Linked DNA regions of Homo sapiens: all the other regions are linked to region 1. Evidence: promoter capture Hi-C in 16 types of primary human blood cells and fetal thymus (Javierre and others, 2016). All regions are on one chromosome and are shown on one strand. The core of a region is centred on a gene start or on the middle of the fragment in contact, and the rest is flanking DNA. Distances in the headings are between cores, read along the strand shown. Region 1 holds the start of OSBPL8 (oxysterol binding protein like 8). Region 2 holds the start of GLIPR1L1 (GLIPR1 like 1). Region 3 has its middle 5.8 kb from the start of GLIPR1L2.

Region 1 (5,138 bases), core at 1,816-4,315:
AAAGGCTGTCAAGCCTGTCAGTGCTTAAACTAATTTGGAAAGAACTTCCCATTCTTAGAAATGTATAATTAATAAAGCAGTAGGCAAAAGAGATGAATTCTCATTGGAGTTAAAATCGGATCGTTATAATAAAAAAGCTTTATTTCAAAATGTCATTCTTAAAATCATTGTAAGAGTAGCAAACTTGCAGGGCATCTCTGGGAGTTACTGAATATTTTTCAGTTACAGTGCAGGATCACATATTAGTTTCTGTTTATGTTGTCATTACATTGAAAATGCTAGATTGAATTATCATTCCTGGAATCACAATATCAGATTTGAAAGGATCTGAAAAAATGATTTTTCAACTGTAGTGGATTAATATATTTTTGTGTTGCAATCAGTTGTTAAGTATGTCAAAATCATTAGTTATTCATGACAAGTAACTATTATACTAGTGATAATCAAAGTAGAGAAGATTGTGAAAGATATACTTACATTTGTTTTGCAATATCTTCACTTTCAATTACTTGCATTAGGACTTTCTTTTTTTTGAGTGGAGCTGAAAGAAGTTAAACGTAGGCTGTCAGTAATTTGCATAATCCTGAGTATACCGTGTCTGTTTGTTTCCAATGTGATTGCCATCCACCGGGAAAAAAAAAAGGTGGTTTAGTATCATTTCTCAAACAGCATGTGGTCCTACTTGATTGGAACTTGAAATGCAGGGAGTAATTTATCTAGTCATACATCTCATTAGCTAAGTCTGTAACCTAGGCTTCCTTGCTTCCAGTACATTGCTTTTTCCAACAAATGATCAAATTTTCAAAAGCCAATGTATGAAATTGGGGCTGAGGCAGAAGAGAATTAGGCAAGGCAATTTGCCACCTTTTTCTAATCTTTAGTCTCAGTTTCCAAAGTAAAATAAAAGTACCAGAAAAACGGGGTCCAGATGGTGTATTTTGCATATTATCTATGCTCTAGGAACATTCTTTTCCAAATCTATTTGATTGCAACTCACAGTAAGAAATTGTTTAAATCACAACATAGGACATACTCTCACCTTCCACCATATTTGAAACAAAAAGTTTCAGGAAGCAATTTTTGCCCTTACTAGACATTATGCACTCTGGTATTTTATATTGTATTACATCCTAGCCTATTTCATATAAAAATGAAATTGATTTTTGAGTTGCAGGTTGAAAAACATGCCTCTAGAAAACAGGAGACAAGTTAATCTGTTAACAAACTCCAAAGTTACTAGCTTTGCTGAAATAATGTCACAGAATAATAAACTTCCTTCACATTTATTTGTACTACAGTCTCTCAGGCTTCAGAACAGAACCTGGTAGAATCTTTTCCTCTTTGGAACACCAGTTCATGACAATATCTCAGAGATTCTAAGACTCGTTGTTTCCCAGTTCATGACAATATCTCAGAGATTCTAAGACTCGTTGTTTCCCAGTTCATGACAATATCTCAGAGATTCTAAGACTCGTTGTTTCTGACATGTTTACATCTCTGAATTCAAGATGTGTCTCAGGCCGGGCGCGGTGGCTCATGCCTGTAATCCCAGCATTTTGGGAGGTCGAGGCGGGTGAATCATTTGAGGTCACGAGTTCAACACCAGCCTTGCCAAAATGGTGAAACCTCCTCTCTACTAAAAATACAAAAATTAGCTGGGCATGGTGGCGCATGCCTGTAATCTCAGCTCCTTGGGAGGCTAAGGGAGGAGAATCGCTTGAACCGGGAGGCGGAAATTGCAGTGGGCCGAGATTGCGCCTCTGCACTCCAGTCTGGGAGACAGAGTGAGACCCTGTCTCAAAAAAAAAAGGAAAAAGATGTGGCTTAAAGGTGCCTTACATATCAGCGGTATGGCATAGTTTCATTGGCAGCCTTTGTTTTCTTTCTTGGGTAACATAAAACAATGTAAGTCTATGATTTTTTTAGAGCTGCTATGAAATATATTAATAATAATTATATAGGCCAAACTCTATTGCTTATTCATTTCAATGTATCCAGCTTATCAGAATGCCTTCTGATTTCTTGTTAAGAAAATGTAATGAGATGAGAATAGCTTAAGAAAAAAATCCTTAGTTCTGGGCTACAAGGGAAAATGAGTTATGACCCCAATTTAATTATTACAGAAAGCTTTCTCATTTGCCTTCATTGTGATCAGGGTTTGAGTATGATCTTTATTCTACCTCCCTTACTTCTGTATAGTTAGGATTTCATTAGGCGGCTAGAGGGTTCTTCGGATCATGGCTAAAAAAGAAAGCAAAAGGTTAAGTCCTAGAGTTAAGGAATTAGGAAAAAAAAATTAAGGCATTAGAAAAAAAATCAAGAATTAGGCTTTATTTTAAAAAATGGAACAAACTGTCAAATTCCTGCGTACCCGTTTAAACTGTCACCAACCTAACACACTGTAAAACTTAATGACTGTAAAACTGGCAGCAGGATCCTGAACATAACAAGGAACAAAAATAAGTTTGCTAGGCTGTTTTCATCCCAGCATGATTGAAATACACCGTTTCCTCAAAAAAAAAAAAACCTCTAATGAGGAAAGCAGTAAATTAAATGCCACGGTTAATGTGCCACTAGAAATAGGAACAAGTAGTTTAGTTACCGAATGCTTCTTAGGCCATACACTCTACACCACGATGCGTTCTTTTTTCTGTTTCGCTAAAGCTTTCACCAAGCCTAAGGCTGGAGAGGGGTCCTAACTGAGCCCTGACCAGACCAGGGAGCCCTACTGTGCAATCTCCTCAGGTTAGGAAGGGCCCAGTATGACCGGCCCAGAAGGCCTGGCCGATCAACAGGCGCTGGGCCGACGGTGGTGGGCTCGCTTCCTGAGGCTGCCCTTGGGCATGCGGAAGGGGACTGGCTGGCGATAACACCCTGGCGAAGCAAGGTGGACAGTGACTCCCGCCCGGTTCGAGCCCGCCTAGCAGGGGAAGCAACTCCACCACCGCCTCCGCGCACCGTCACGTGACGGGAAGAGGGCGTGGCCGAAGCCCGTGATCCGGGGGGCGGGCGGGGCAGGGGGAGGGCACTAGAATGTGAAGGATCTTCGCGGTTCTGGGTGCCCAGAAAGGCGGCGACGCGGCGGATGACAACATTAGGCCGCGACGCGCTCCTGGCCAGGCGGCGGCTGTAGTGTTAGCTTTGGACGCCGCAGTAGCCGCTGCCGGTAGCAAGCCGACTGAGGGAAGGTGGGGGTCCGCCCGGGCTGGTGGACCTCGGGGCCGAAAGTTCCCGCCCCGCTCGGGGGCTGAGCCGGCAGTGCCTCCGCGGCCGCTGGGCAGCGCCCTTCGTCCAGGCTCGCGCCCCAGCTGCCGCCGACGACAGCGGCCGAGAGAAGTTGGGGTCTGACTAGACGCTTACGGGGCCTCGGACCCCGGCGCCGCGGCGACCTCGGAGGAACCGGCTCCTTGCGTCCCGCCTCCCTGGGAGCTCCGCACGGGTGAGTGTTGCTCCATTCCTGAGGTTGGGGTGCTGGGTTCGCACCCCTCAGGGCGACTGCGCACCCTTATTGCCACGTTCTGAGCTCGGGCTGTCGGGGACTCCTGGCCACCCCCGCCGAGGAGTTCTTTGGCTCCTTTGTTCCCTTTTGGAGTAGGGGGATTGGAAAGGCTGGCAGGGTGGAGTGTTTAGGGGCCCACAGTAGGTGCATCTGCAGCCTTACAAAAGCCGCGGCAGGGGAACGGGGGTGGGAGGCTGTTGGAGCATTTCGACCGCCCCGGGTGTCTGTCCCTCCTGAAGTTTGATAGGTTGATGGCATGGGCCTCGTTGGGAGCCCCCGCGCCCAGGAGAGCTGGCGCTTTGTCGCTCGGTGCGGTTAAGGCGAGGCTCCTTCTTTCCTGTGACAGCCCCAGAGAAGGCTGTGCCGCGCACCGCAGACCGCACCCGCCTTTGCAGAGCCAAGCGACACGGTGTTGTTCCTCTAAGCCTCAGTTCTCCCGGCCTTCTTGTAACGTAGGAGGAAAGCCAAGCCTTTGCTGTGCTTTTAAATTTAATGTTTGTTTCTAAGCCCTCTCTCAAGAGTGGAATCAGGTTCCAAGGAGCTTCACAGGCAGCATGCTTTAGGTTCATTGAACCACCCACTCAAGACTGGCTGAGGCGAAGCAACAGTATATGCAGATTTTCCATTCACAAAAGTCATTTAACACTCTTCTTTATGAGACACATCTGCGTTGCAGAACGTAACCTAATTTCATTTTATTTAAATGCTTTCTGAAATAATAGGTAACTTGGACAACGTAAACAGATGGGTAAACTTTAACTGATAATGTAAGTATATATGCATTAAATAAAAAATTTAATGATGTTTTTGCCTTTCTGCTGCTAGAAGACTTAAATGACGTCTGAGTAGTAATACAGTGTCTCCTGCATGGCAGTTAAGTTTTTCCCAAAATTAGTGCTGCTTTTGAAATAATCCTTTAAAACAGTTTTTGCCTCCCTTCGTATCTAGAGAGAGCAAGAATTGTGGAGAATCGTGGGTGAATTGATTGTTAAATTTTGCTAATTTCCTAGAGTTTCATCTAAACTTGATTTTGCTGAGAGGCTATGATCAGTTTCTATGCTTGCTAGAACCTGTTTTGCAGTGAAATTATTAAGATCATGCTAGTTTTATAAAATAGGTTGGAATAGGAAAAGTAAGGCCATGCAATTTAAAACTGTTCTCTATAAAAGTACAACTAATTTCAAATGTTTGTTACTTTTATTTTTTTTTAATATTAACCGTGTATGGAGTGACTATAATATACCTGCTCAAAGGGCTGAGAAAGGAAATAGATGAAACTTAAGCTACCTTTTGGGTCTTTAATTATGGACATCAAGTTATTGCGGTCACATTCCATGTCAACCGTTTGAACAGCAATACCGTGTACACAGGTGCTTAGAAATGCCTGTTTAATTAAAAATGGCCATGGTTTATTTCTCTTTGATTGAATCATAATAGTTATTGAATCTCTGATCTGTGGAAAGATGCTACTGTATTTTCCTTAGAATGTTACTGCATTTTAAAGACAGTCAAATATGTTTTTTATAACACATTCAGGGTACTTATACATTTGTCAATATTCAGTTCCTTGGTTCATTTAAAAATTGGAAGCCTTAGAAAACACTTTGGGGATAAATTTACAATTGTGTATAATGAATTT
Region 2 (5,138 bases), core at 1,946-4,445, 1.2 Mb after region 1:
TCTTTCATTTGTACAAGACAAAGAAGACAATAGTCGAAAAATAATAATAGAAATCAAAGAAATAAAAAAATAAGCAATACTTTTATTAGGCAAAGTTCAAGGATTTAATGTTACTTTATAAGACACATAGTACGGAATGTAATATTTATGAGACTTTATGTGATAAATAACATGGCACGCATATATGAAATAAAAATTCCAATCTTGAGGTAGGTAGTTTCACTGACGTATACATATGTAAAAAAAATTGTACATTAAAACTAGTGCATTTTATGCACTTATTCACTAGTAATCATTCAATAAACAACATATCAAAATATTGTGTCAATTTTATAAAATGCTGATTTTCAAGACATTTGTCCATTTATTTTCTTTATGTTGTAAAATTTATTAGTATAAATTTGTTCAAAATATTCTCTATCTATCCATTTAATGTGTGGAGTTTTTTAAAAGTGATTTTCCATTCCTAAAATTGATTTTTGAGTTGTGTCTTTCTTCATTAATCTTTTTTTTACTACTGGTTTATCAATTTTATTAATATATAGTTTTAAACCAACTTTTGATATTATTGATTTTAGTCCTCATACTTTTACTTTCAATTTCATCAAATTATGATCATCTTTAGTTTTTTAAAAATTTTCTTGTGCTTAATTTAAACTTGTTTCCTACCTTCTTGAGTTGAAAGAATAGGTCTTGATTTTTAACCATTCTTCTTTCCTAAAATATTCATTTAAATCTATACGTATGCTTCCAAACACTTCTTTTGCTATATCCCACAAATTTTGATATGCTGTGTTTCCATTAACATTCAAATCTAAATTATAGTAATCTCTATTATTATTTATTCTTTAACTTATGGACCATTTAGATATGTGCTGCTTGATTTCACATTTTGGGAGATTTTGCACACTTTATTTCTGGTTTAAGACTTTTTTTTCAGAAGATATAGGACAAAATTTCAAATACTGTTAATTTATTGAGACTTGTTTTATGGTTCAGCATATTGTTTATATTGATGAATGTAATGAATACTTGATAAAAATTTGTATTTTGCAGTGTGGTATAAATTGTTTAATGTCAATTAGGTAAAATTGTTTGATGTTCAAATCTTTTTTATTTTTACTGATTTTTACCTACTTGTTCTCTTACTCACTAAGATTAAAATCTCTATGACTGTTTTGTCTCTTTCTCCCTTTACTTTTGCCAATTTTTGTGTATTAAAATATATTATTACATTTATTTGTATTGAAGATTGCTGTGTCTTTTGTTGAATTAGCCCTTTTATTTTCCTAAATGTCCCCTTTTATTTCTGGTAGTTCTCCTTGTCTTAAAATCTACTTCAGTAGCCATAAATATAGCTATTCTATCTTAATTTTAGAGTTTGCATAATGTATTTTTTCCATCTTTTTACTTTAATCTATTTGTGATATGTTTCTGTTACAAAAGCATTAATCCAATCTGATAATCTTTATTTTTAATTAAAGTATGTAGTAGTCATTTGCATTTAATGTAATTTTAACATGGTTAAGTTTTAGTCTACCATTTGCTATTTTTAAATGATTCCCTCTTTGTTCTTTTGTTCCTTGTTCCTGTTTTCCAAAAATTAATCAAGGACTTTAGTATTCTACTTACTGGATTTTTAGCTCTACTTCTTTGTATATTTTTAATGGTTATCCTAGATATTAAAATATGCATTCTTAACTTCTCACGGTCCATCCAGAAATATTATTGTGATTCTTAACAATATAAGGAACTTTCAGCAGAATAATTCTATTGACACTTCACTTCATTTTTTATGCATTGGTTATAATGTGTTTAGTTTCTACATTATTATAAACTCCACAATTCATTGTTATCATATTTTGCTTTAAATAGTCAATGAGTACAAAAGAAATATAAAGAACATTTATTATATTTAACCCCACATTTACTCTTTTTTATCATACATTTACAATAAAACTCTAAAGGCATCAACCATATTAATACTAATATTAGTATTTCTGAATTCCGTTGAAGATTTATTTCTAGTTAATTTATGCCTTGGACAACCCCAAGCTGGTAAACATTATATATTAAAATATCTTAACAATTCTGCATTAAAGAGATTAGTTTATTCTTGTTTCATTTCTGATACATATTTGAATCTTTCTCCATCAAAATATAATTTTCTTATACAGTAGACTAGTACAGTTTTGAACTTATTTTAATGCCTGAGTTGTGATTTTATAATTACTTTTGTTTTCCACTGGATAGAAAAGAAGAAAGCTGGAATAGATATGAGTTATACTGTATCTACATCTGCATAGCACATAAAATAGACTAATACTATCAACGTTTATGCTCATAGTGATGCATTTATAAACAAGAAAAAGTTACAATGCAAGGGAAATTTCCAATCATACAATTCATAGTCAAGTATTTAAAATTTTGTAAATTCTATGGATTATTTAATAATCCAATGCTTTTTATGCTTATTCTTCAATAGAGTACTGTATTTTTTTCAAATAATACTACACATGAAGTGTTGTTTTGATCTTGGATTCATATGATATAAAAATAAGTAAGAGAACAAGAGAATCTCCATTCCTGGGCTATTTCTTTGGTATCTTGTATCTTGGTTGTGGGGGGTGGAAATTGCTAGCTAAAAAATGGAAGAAAGAAAACAAAATAATCCTGTGTTCAGTACTTATAACTTTAGTGGTGCAACAAAGCAACTTCCAAACACTGCTCCAGCATCCCCACCTTCCCCGCAAGAGGCAAGGAACAGCTTCAAGTCTTCCTTTCTTGTTCACTCCTATGACTCTGGAGGAGACAGCCCAACCAAGGTGTGAATTTTTTTCTTTTTAACTGCATATATGTAAAGTCCGGATTGAATTAGTACAAGTTAAGTCCGTGAAATTTATCACCCAGATACCTCAGGATGAGTCAGGGATTTAAGAGCCCAGCCCTGGTTCTTTCTCACCATGTATTTCATGTCGGCCGCGGGAGGGTTGACTTTGCCACGCCATTCGTTGTGGGCTTCTATGCAGTTGTCTATAAAGTGTGGGTCAGTGATGGATGGGATTTTGGAAGATGTAGTGGCTACCAAACACAGACCCAAGATCCATAAACAACTGAATTTATTCTTCAGAGCCATGGAAGGATGTGGAGGATGCGGAGGATGCCCTGACTGCGCGGACCAGTAACGGCTGGGGCAACCCGATTTCCCCACGCCCCCGCACCACGCTCTCCCTTGGCTCCATCCTGCCGCACAGGCTCGAGCCCAGCGCGGCTGGATCAACTTGTCAGTGTCGCTGTGGGGAAGAACAGGCAGCAGGGTTCCCCTTCCACAAAGCTCTGAGCTACAGGGGAAAGCTCTGAGTCGCCCTCTGGTGGAGGGAATTTCAACCATCCAAACTGCTTTCTGTGGATCCAATCTGTAATCTGCAGAGCGCGTCTGGATTGTAATACAGATTGCAATATGCAAGCCACACAAGTTAGGTAAAGAACAAGTGCGGGATGCTGACAATGGGCCAGTCGAGTGCAAAGCACTATATATTCGTTTCTTAGACGCAGCTTCCGTGTATAGATTTTTATTGTTCTAAATAATCTAGAATCATATTGCCACTTCCCTCAGAGATTGGGAATAGAGTAAGAATAGGCAATTCTTATACAGTGACATACAGTGATCCTAAATTATCAACTTGTCAAACATTTAATAATTTCCTTCTGTTTTTTCGTCTGAAGAGACCGAATGCTTAGATAGATAACAATAGATGCTTGGAAAATGTAGCCAAGTAGTTCCTCTTGACAAAATCTTCCCTTTTTGATAGTTTGGAACAGAGCCACTGTATGGTGACTGGTAGACTCCAAGAGTTGCTTTAATTGATACACTGAGACTGGGATGGACAGAGTACATTTGATTGTCTATTTTACCTGCAATGCAATATAAATCAACGTCATTTGGCTTAATGTTTTAAATTCATTACATCAGTTATATTGATATTCTGTAATAAACCAGCATTTTTCCCCATGACATTAATTTTTTTTAGTATTTCTATGTTTCAAATAAATACCTTTACTTAGTAATTTGAAGTTGTTTACAATGCTGTTTAATTCAAGTGAACACGTACTTACATCTGCTGAATGATCCGCCATAGTCAACCTTGACACAAAAAACAAAAACCAAAACAAACTACTTTGATGCAGCTACTATCTTTTTAAAAATAAAAAGCAGAAAATTAGATTATAAGAAAACGAAAAATGCAAGGATCCTAATGGAAATTCTACTGGGCAATAGATAATATATTTCTAGTCTACTACCAGCTAATGGAGAATTGCTGTATATACTACTTTCATATCACATACATAGTCCAAACTGAGCTTCTGATATCCCACACCCAAAGACATGAACATATATACGTGTGTGTGTGTGTGTATATGTGTGTGTGTAGGTATACAGATAGATAAATCAATACAGTTATATACATCTACATGTGTCTATATATATATGTCTCTTCCTGGATATAAAGATATCTATAGGCATATACACACATACATATACACACATACATTTATATATGTAAAGTTCTCTCTATGTATAAATCTGTTTGTATACACATATATGTGTGTGTGTCTGCCTATAGACATATATACATCTACACAGAGAGAGATACAGATGTCTATAGGCATATATACATATACATATGTTTGTATACAAAGAGAAAGAGAACTTTTAAGGAATTGGCTCACATTACAGTGGGGGGCTACAATAAAAAATCTGAAGTCCTAGGTATGGCCCAAAAGACACTACATAATCTGACCATGGCTAGTTCTCTGGCATTCTCTCCTGGCTTATTCTGCATCAGCCACATCCATCAGCTTGATAAGGATGCTCTCTCCTCAGCATCTTTGCACTTGCTGTTACTTTTGCCTGCAGTGCTCTTTATAGAGTTCCCTTCAGTGAAGTCTTCCCTGATCATTCTATATCCCCTGTCTGTCAGTGCCTATCCATTTAACCTGTTTTATTTTTCTTCATTGCATTAATTACCTCCTGAATTTATGTTATTTATTTTTTTAACATCTGCCTTCTCTATCAGATTGTAGCCTTCACCACAACAGTAGCTTTGTTTTCTTCATTGCTACATCTCTAGCACCTT
Region 3 (5,138 bases), core at 1,683-4,182, 1.2 Mb after region 1:
TAACAGTATTGAAAGGTGGAGCCTTTAAGAAGTGATTGGGTCTGTCCTCATGAATGTATTGATCCATTCGTAGATTAATGGGTTAATGGATTAGTTTAGCCCCTTTACCATGTGATACTCTGTGCTGCCTTGGGATTCTGCAGAGTCCCCAGTAGCAAGAAGGGCCACACCAGATATGGCCCCTTGACTTTGAAATTCTCAGCCTCCATAATTCTAAGAAGTCAATTCCTTTTCTTTATAACTTACTCAGTTTCAGGTATTTTCTTATGAGCAACATTAAACAGACTATGGCAGTAAGCATAATGTTCAGTTTTTTAAGAAACTGCTAAACTATGTTCCAAAGTGGCTGTGCCATTTTGCATTCCCACCAGCAGTGAATGAGAGCTCATGTTCCTCCACATCCTTGTCAGCATTTGGTGTTGCCAGTGTTCTGGATTTTGGCCATTCTAAAAGGTGTGTAGTGGTATTTCATTGGTATTTTAATGTGCGTTTTCCTGGTGACATATGATGCACCTTTTCATATGCTTATTTGAGTACTGTATGTCTTCTTTGGTGAGGTGTCCATTAAGGTTTTTGACCCATTTTTAAATTAAACTGTTTGTTTTTCGATTGTTGAGTTTAAAGAGTCTTTGCATATTGTGCGTAATAGTTTTTATTGCATATATCTTCTGTAAGTATTTTTCTCCCAGGCCATGGCTTGTTTTTTCATTCTCTTGAGAATGTCTTTTGCTGAGTAGAAATTTTTAGTTTTAATGGCACCCAGCTTATCGATTTGTTCTTTCATAAATCATACCTTTTGTGTTGTATCTAAAAGGTTATTGCCAAATTAAAGATCATCTAGATTTTCTCTTATATAACCTTCTGGGAGTTTATACTTTTGTATTTACATTTAGGTCTGTGATCCATTTTGATTAATTTTTGTGAAGGGTATAAAGTTTGTGCTTAGACTGGTTTTTTTTTCTTGTATATGGACGTTCAGTTGTTCCAGAACCATTTGTTGAAAAGACTACATTTCTCCATTATATTGCCTTTGCTCCTTTGTCAAAGATCAGTTGACTTTATTTATGCTGTTCTATTTCTCAGCTCTCTATTCTGTTCCATGGATTTATTTCTACTTTCACCAATACTATACCTTTTAAATTATTGTATTTTTGCTATTGTTTGAATATGTCCCCCTAAATTCATATGCTGGAAAATTAATCCCCAATACAACAGCATTGAGGGGTGGGATCTTTAAGAGGTGATTGGGTCATGAGAGCCCTGTCCTCATGAATTGTATTAATGCCATTATCACAGGATTGGTAAAATATTGAGGGAGTGAGTTCCTGATAAAAGAGTGAGTTCAGCTCCCTTCTTTTGCACATGTGCATGCACTCTCTTCCTCTGTGAACTCCTGCCATCAGATGACACAGCCAGCAGGCCCTCACCAGATGCAAGCTCCTCAACCTTGGACTTTCTAGCCTCCAGAACTGTAAGAAATTGATCTTTTTTTAAAATAAATTACCAAATATCAGATATTCTGTGATAGCAGCACAAAACAGACTGAGACACGTACCCTTATAGTAAGTCTTAATGTCACGTAGTGTTAGTCCTGCAACCTTGTTCTTCTCATCCAATGTATTGGCTGTTCAGGGTTTTTTTGCCTCTTCATATAAACTTTAGAATAATTTTGTCAGTCTCCACAAATTAACTTGCTGAAATTTTGATTGGGGTTACATTAAATCAATAGATCAAATTGGGAATTACTGATATCCTAACAAATTCCTTGTTCATTCTATTATGAACAAGGAATATTTATGAACAAGGAAATAGAATGAACAAATTCCTTCTTCATTCTATTTATGAACAAGGAATATTTCTTCATTTATTCAGTTCTTTGATTTATTTTATCATACTTTTGTAGTGTTCCTCATACAGATCTTGTAAATATTTTGTTAGATTTATGACTAAGTATTTGTTTGTGTGTGCTAAACGCTATTATGTTTCCAATTTTAAATTCTACTTGTTCATGGCTAGTATATAGGAAAGCAATTTAAAGTAACTGACTTTTCTATATTAACCTCGTATCCTGCAACCTTGCTAAAATCATTGATTAGTTTCAGGAGTTTGTTGATTCTTTGGATTTTGTACATAAATAATTATGTCATCGGCAAACAAAGACATTTTTATTTCTTCTCAATCTATAAACCTTTTATTTTCTTGTCTTATTGTATTAGCAAGGATTTCCAGTATGAAGTTGAAGAGCAGTGATGAGAGGGGCATCTGTGCCTTGTTCCTGATCTTAGTGAGAAAGCTTCCTGTTTCTCATCATTAAGTATGCAGTTAGCTATAGCTTTTTTTTGTAAATATTGATATCTTTATCAATATCTCAGGGAAGTTTCCTACTATTCCTAGTTTATTGAGAATTTTTATTATGAGTTCATACTGGATTTTGTCCAGTGCTCTTCCTGCATCTATGGATATAATCATATGATTTTTCTTCTTTAGCCTATTGATGTGATTTATTACATTAGTTGATTTGCAAATTGAACCAGGCTTGTATACCTATGTCTTAGTTCATTTTCTGATGCTTATAACAGAATACTTGAAACTGGGTAATTTATAAAGAAAAATAATTTATTTCTTACAGTTATGGAGGCTGAGAACATAAGGTTGAGGGGCTGCGTTTGGTGAAATACCTTCTTGCTGTTGAGAACTCTCTGCAAAGTCCTGAAGCAGTGCAGGGCATCATATGGCAAGAAGGTTGGGCATGCTAGCTCTGGTCCCTCTTCCCCTTTTTACTAAGCCCTTTAGTCTCACTCCTGTGATAACCCATTAATCCATTAACTTATTATCCTATTAATCCATTAATCTATGAATGTATTGGTTCATTCATGAGGGCAGAGCCCTCATAACCCAATAATCTTTTTAAAGCCCCACCTTTCAATACTGCCTCAATGGAAATTAAATTTTAACATGAATTTGGAGGGGAAAATATTTAGACCAGAGCAATCTGGAATAAATTCCACTCCATCATGTAATATAATTATTTTTATACGTTGTTGAATTCAATTTGCTTAGTATCTTGTTGGGGAATTTTGCATCTATGTTCATGAGAGACGTTGGTCTGTAGTATTTTTTTTCTTGTAATGTTTTTGCAGGATTTTGGTATTAGGGTAATGCTGGCCTCATAGAATGAGTTAAGAAGTATTCTGTTTGCTTTTATCTTCTGAAAGACATTATACAGAATCGATCACTTTTTTCTTTAAATTTTTGGTAGAATTCACCAGTGAATTTATCTGGGCCTGGTGCTTTCTGTTTTGGAAGGTTATTAGTTATCAATTAAATTTCTTAAATAGGAATAGGCCTCTTCAGATTGTCTATTTCTTCTTGCATGAGTTGTGAGAGATGTGTCTTTCAAGGAAGTGGCCCGTTCATCTAGATTATTAAGTTTGTGGGTGTGGAGTTGTTCACAGTGTTGCTCAGTTATCCTTTTAATGTTTATCAGATCTGTAGTGATGTTCCTTCCTTCATCTCTGATATTGATAATTTATGTCTTTTCCCTTTTCCTGTTAGCTTGGCTAGAAGCTTATCAATCTTATTTATGCCTTAAAAAACCAGCTTTTGATTTTATTAATTTTCTCTATTAATTTTGTTTTCAATTTTATTGATTTCTGTTCAAATTTTTATTATTTCTTCTGCTTACTTTGGGTTTAATTTGCTCTTTTTTTTCTAGTTTCTAACAGTGAAAGCATATGCGATTTTAGATCTTTCTTCTTTTCTAATATATTTATTCAATGCTACAAATTTACCTCTAAGCAATGCTTTGCTGCATCCCACAAATTTTGCCAAGTTGTTTTCATCTTCATTTATTTAAAAATATTTTCAAATTTCTTTTGAGATTTTTTCTTTGGACCATGTGTTATTTAGAAGTGTGCCATTTAATCTCTTATTTTGGAATTTTATGGTTATCATTCTGTTACTGATTTCTAGTTCAATTACTAGTGGTCTGAGAGCAGGCATTACATGATTTCTATTCTAAATTTGTTAAGGTGTGTTTTATGGTCCAGAATATAGTTTATTTTGGTAAATGTTTCATATGAGCTCGAGAATATATATTCTGCTATTGTCGAATAATGTATAGACGTCTTATTACATCCAGGTGATTGATGTTGTTGTTGAGTTTAACTATGTCCTTACTGATTTTCTGCCTGCTGAATCTATACATTTCAGATAGAGGTGTTTTGAAGTCTCCAACTATAATAGTAGATTCGTCTATTTCTTCTTGTCATTCTATCAGTTTTGTCTCATATATTTCTACACTCTCTTGTTAGGTGCATATACATTAAGGATTGTAATGTCTTCTTGGAGAATTAACCCCTTTATTATTATGTAATGCCTCTGTTTAATCCTGATAACTTTCCTTGTTTTGAAGTTGGCTGCAGCCAAAATTAATATAGCTATCTTGGTTTCTTTTGATTAGTGTTGTAAAGCTAGATTTTAAGCCCAGGTGACTAAGATAGGAGTATGGAAGGACACACAAAAGCATCTCATTTGGTTTCTGTAGAAAGAAGTGGGGTTTGCTGACAATGTTCTGCAAATATTCAATCTTTCGTATCTGTCAGTGAATCAGCTCCCATTATATACTTCATATAAAAAAATTTTAATGCATTATATTCTATGATATATATTTTCAAAAAATTTAAAGAGGCATGTAATACATGAGAATTATTTAATCATAGTTTCATGAAATACGTATTAAATCACAGGTTGTGTACATTTTCTAATAAGGTTTGAATGGTTGTAGATTTTTGAACTTTGAAATTTGGGGCAAAACAGTTTTAAGTTATTTTATATTGAAAGTGATGGAAATAATTTATCACATTCGGTTTCCTGAGGGCATTGGAATTGTTAGAGGGTATTGACAGAGTCATTTATTTCTTTACAAGGAATGTGGAAAATAAGGTTTCATTAAATTATTTAAATTCTGCTACTTATATACTTTTTGCATACCCATTTAATATTTCTGTTGTCATGTATAACAGATATAGCTTTAATTTTAAAAACAAGAGCAATTTTGGGATAAACTTTAAGCCTCTTGCTTATCTCAGATGATTTGTGAGTTTCCTTAAGTTCTCAGTTTCTGTACACTTGTACAC

The links. The method cuts DNA at HindIII sites, captures the fragments that hold promoters and counts their contacts. A CHiCAGO score of 5 or more calls a contact.
Region 2: the fragment with the promoter of GLIPR1L1 here is called in contact with the fragment with the promoter of OSBPL8 in region 1 in 5 of 17 cell types (total B cells, naive CD4 T cells, naive CD8 T cells and 2 more); the score reaches 9.2 in total B cells.
Region 3: a contact is called between a fragment that was not itself captured here and the fragment with the promoter of OSBPL8 in region 1, in 2 of 17 cell types (total B cells and total CD8 T cells). The highest score is 6.3, in total B cells.

The regions. Positions count from the first base shown.
Region 1 is chr12:76,557,698-76,562,835 of GRCh38, reverse strand. OSBPL8 (oxysterol binding protein like 8) reads left to right here and starts at 3,065. Exons shown (of 24, transcript NM_020841.5): 1 at 3,065-3,439. LOC105369850 (a long non-coding RNA gene) reads right to left here and starts at 2,934. Exons shown (of 4, transcript NR_188081.1): 1 at 2,603-2,934; 2 at 478-541. RefSeq lists a silencer at 3,235-3,424 and an enhancer at 3,835-4,144. The HindIII fragment of the contact is 3,809 bases long and covers 2,667-5,138 here.
Region 2 is chr12:75,332,727-75,337,864 of GRCh38, reverse strand. GLIPR1L1 (GLIPR1 like 1) reads right to left here and starts at 3,195. Exons shown (of 6, transcript NM_001304964.2): 1 at 2,963-3,195. The coding sequence starts at 3,136. It also overlaps a transcript of CAPS2 not described here. RefSeq lists a silencer at 3,349-3,458. The HindIII fragment of the contact is 15,549 bases long and covers 1-5,138 here.
Region 3 is chr12:75,382,684-75,387,821 of GRCh38, reverse strand. It overlaps a transcript of CAPS2 not described here. Among named protein-coding and RNA genes, the nearest start is that of GLIPR1L2, 5.8 kb to the left of the region's middle. The HindIII fragment of the contact is 1,274 bases long and covers 2,296-3,569 here.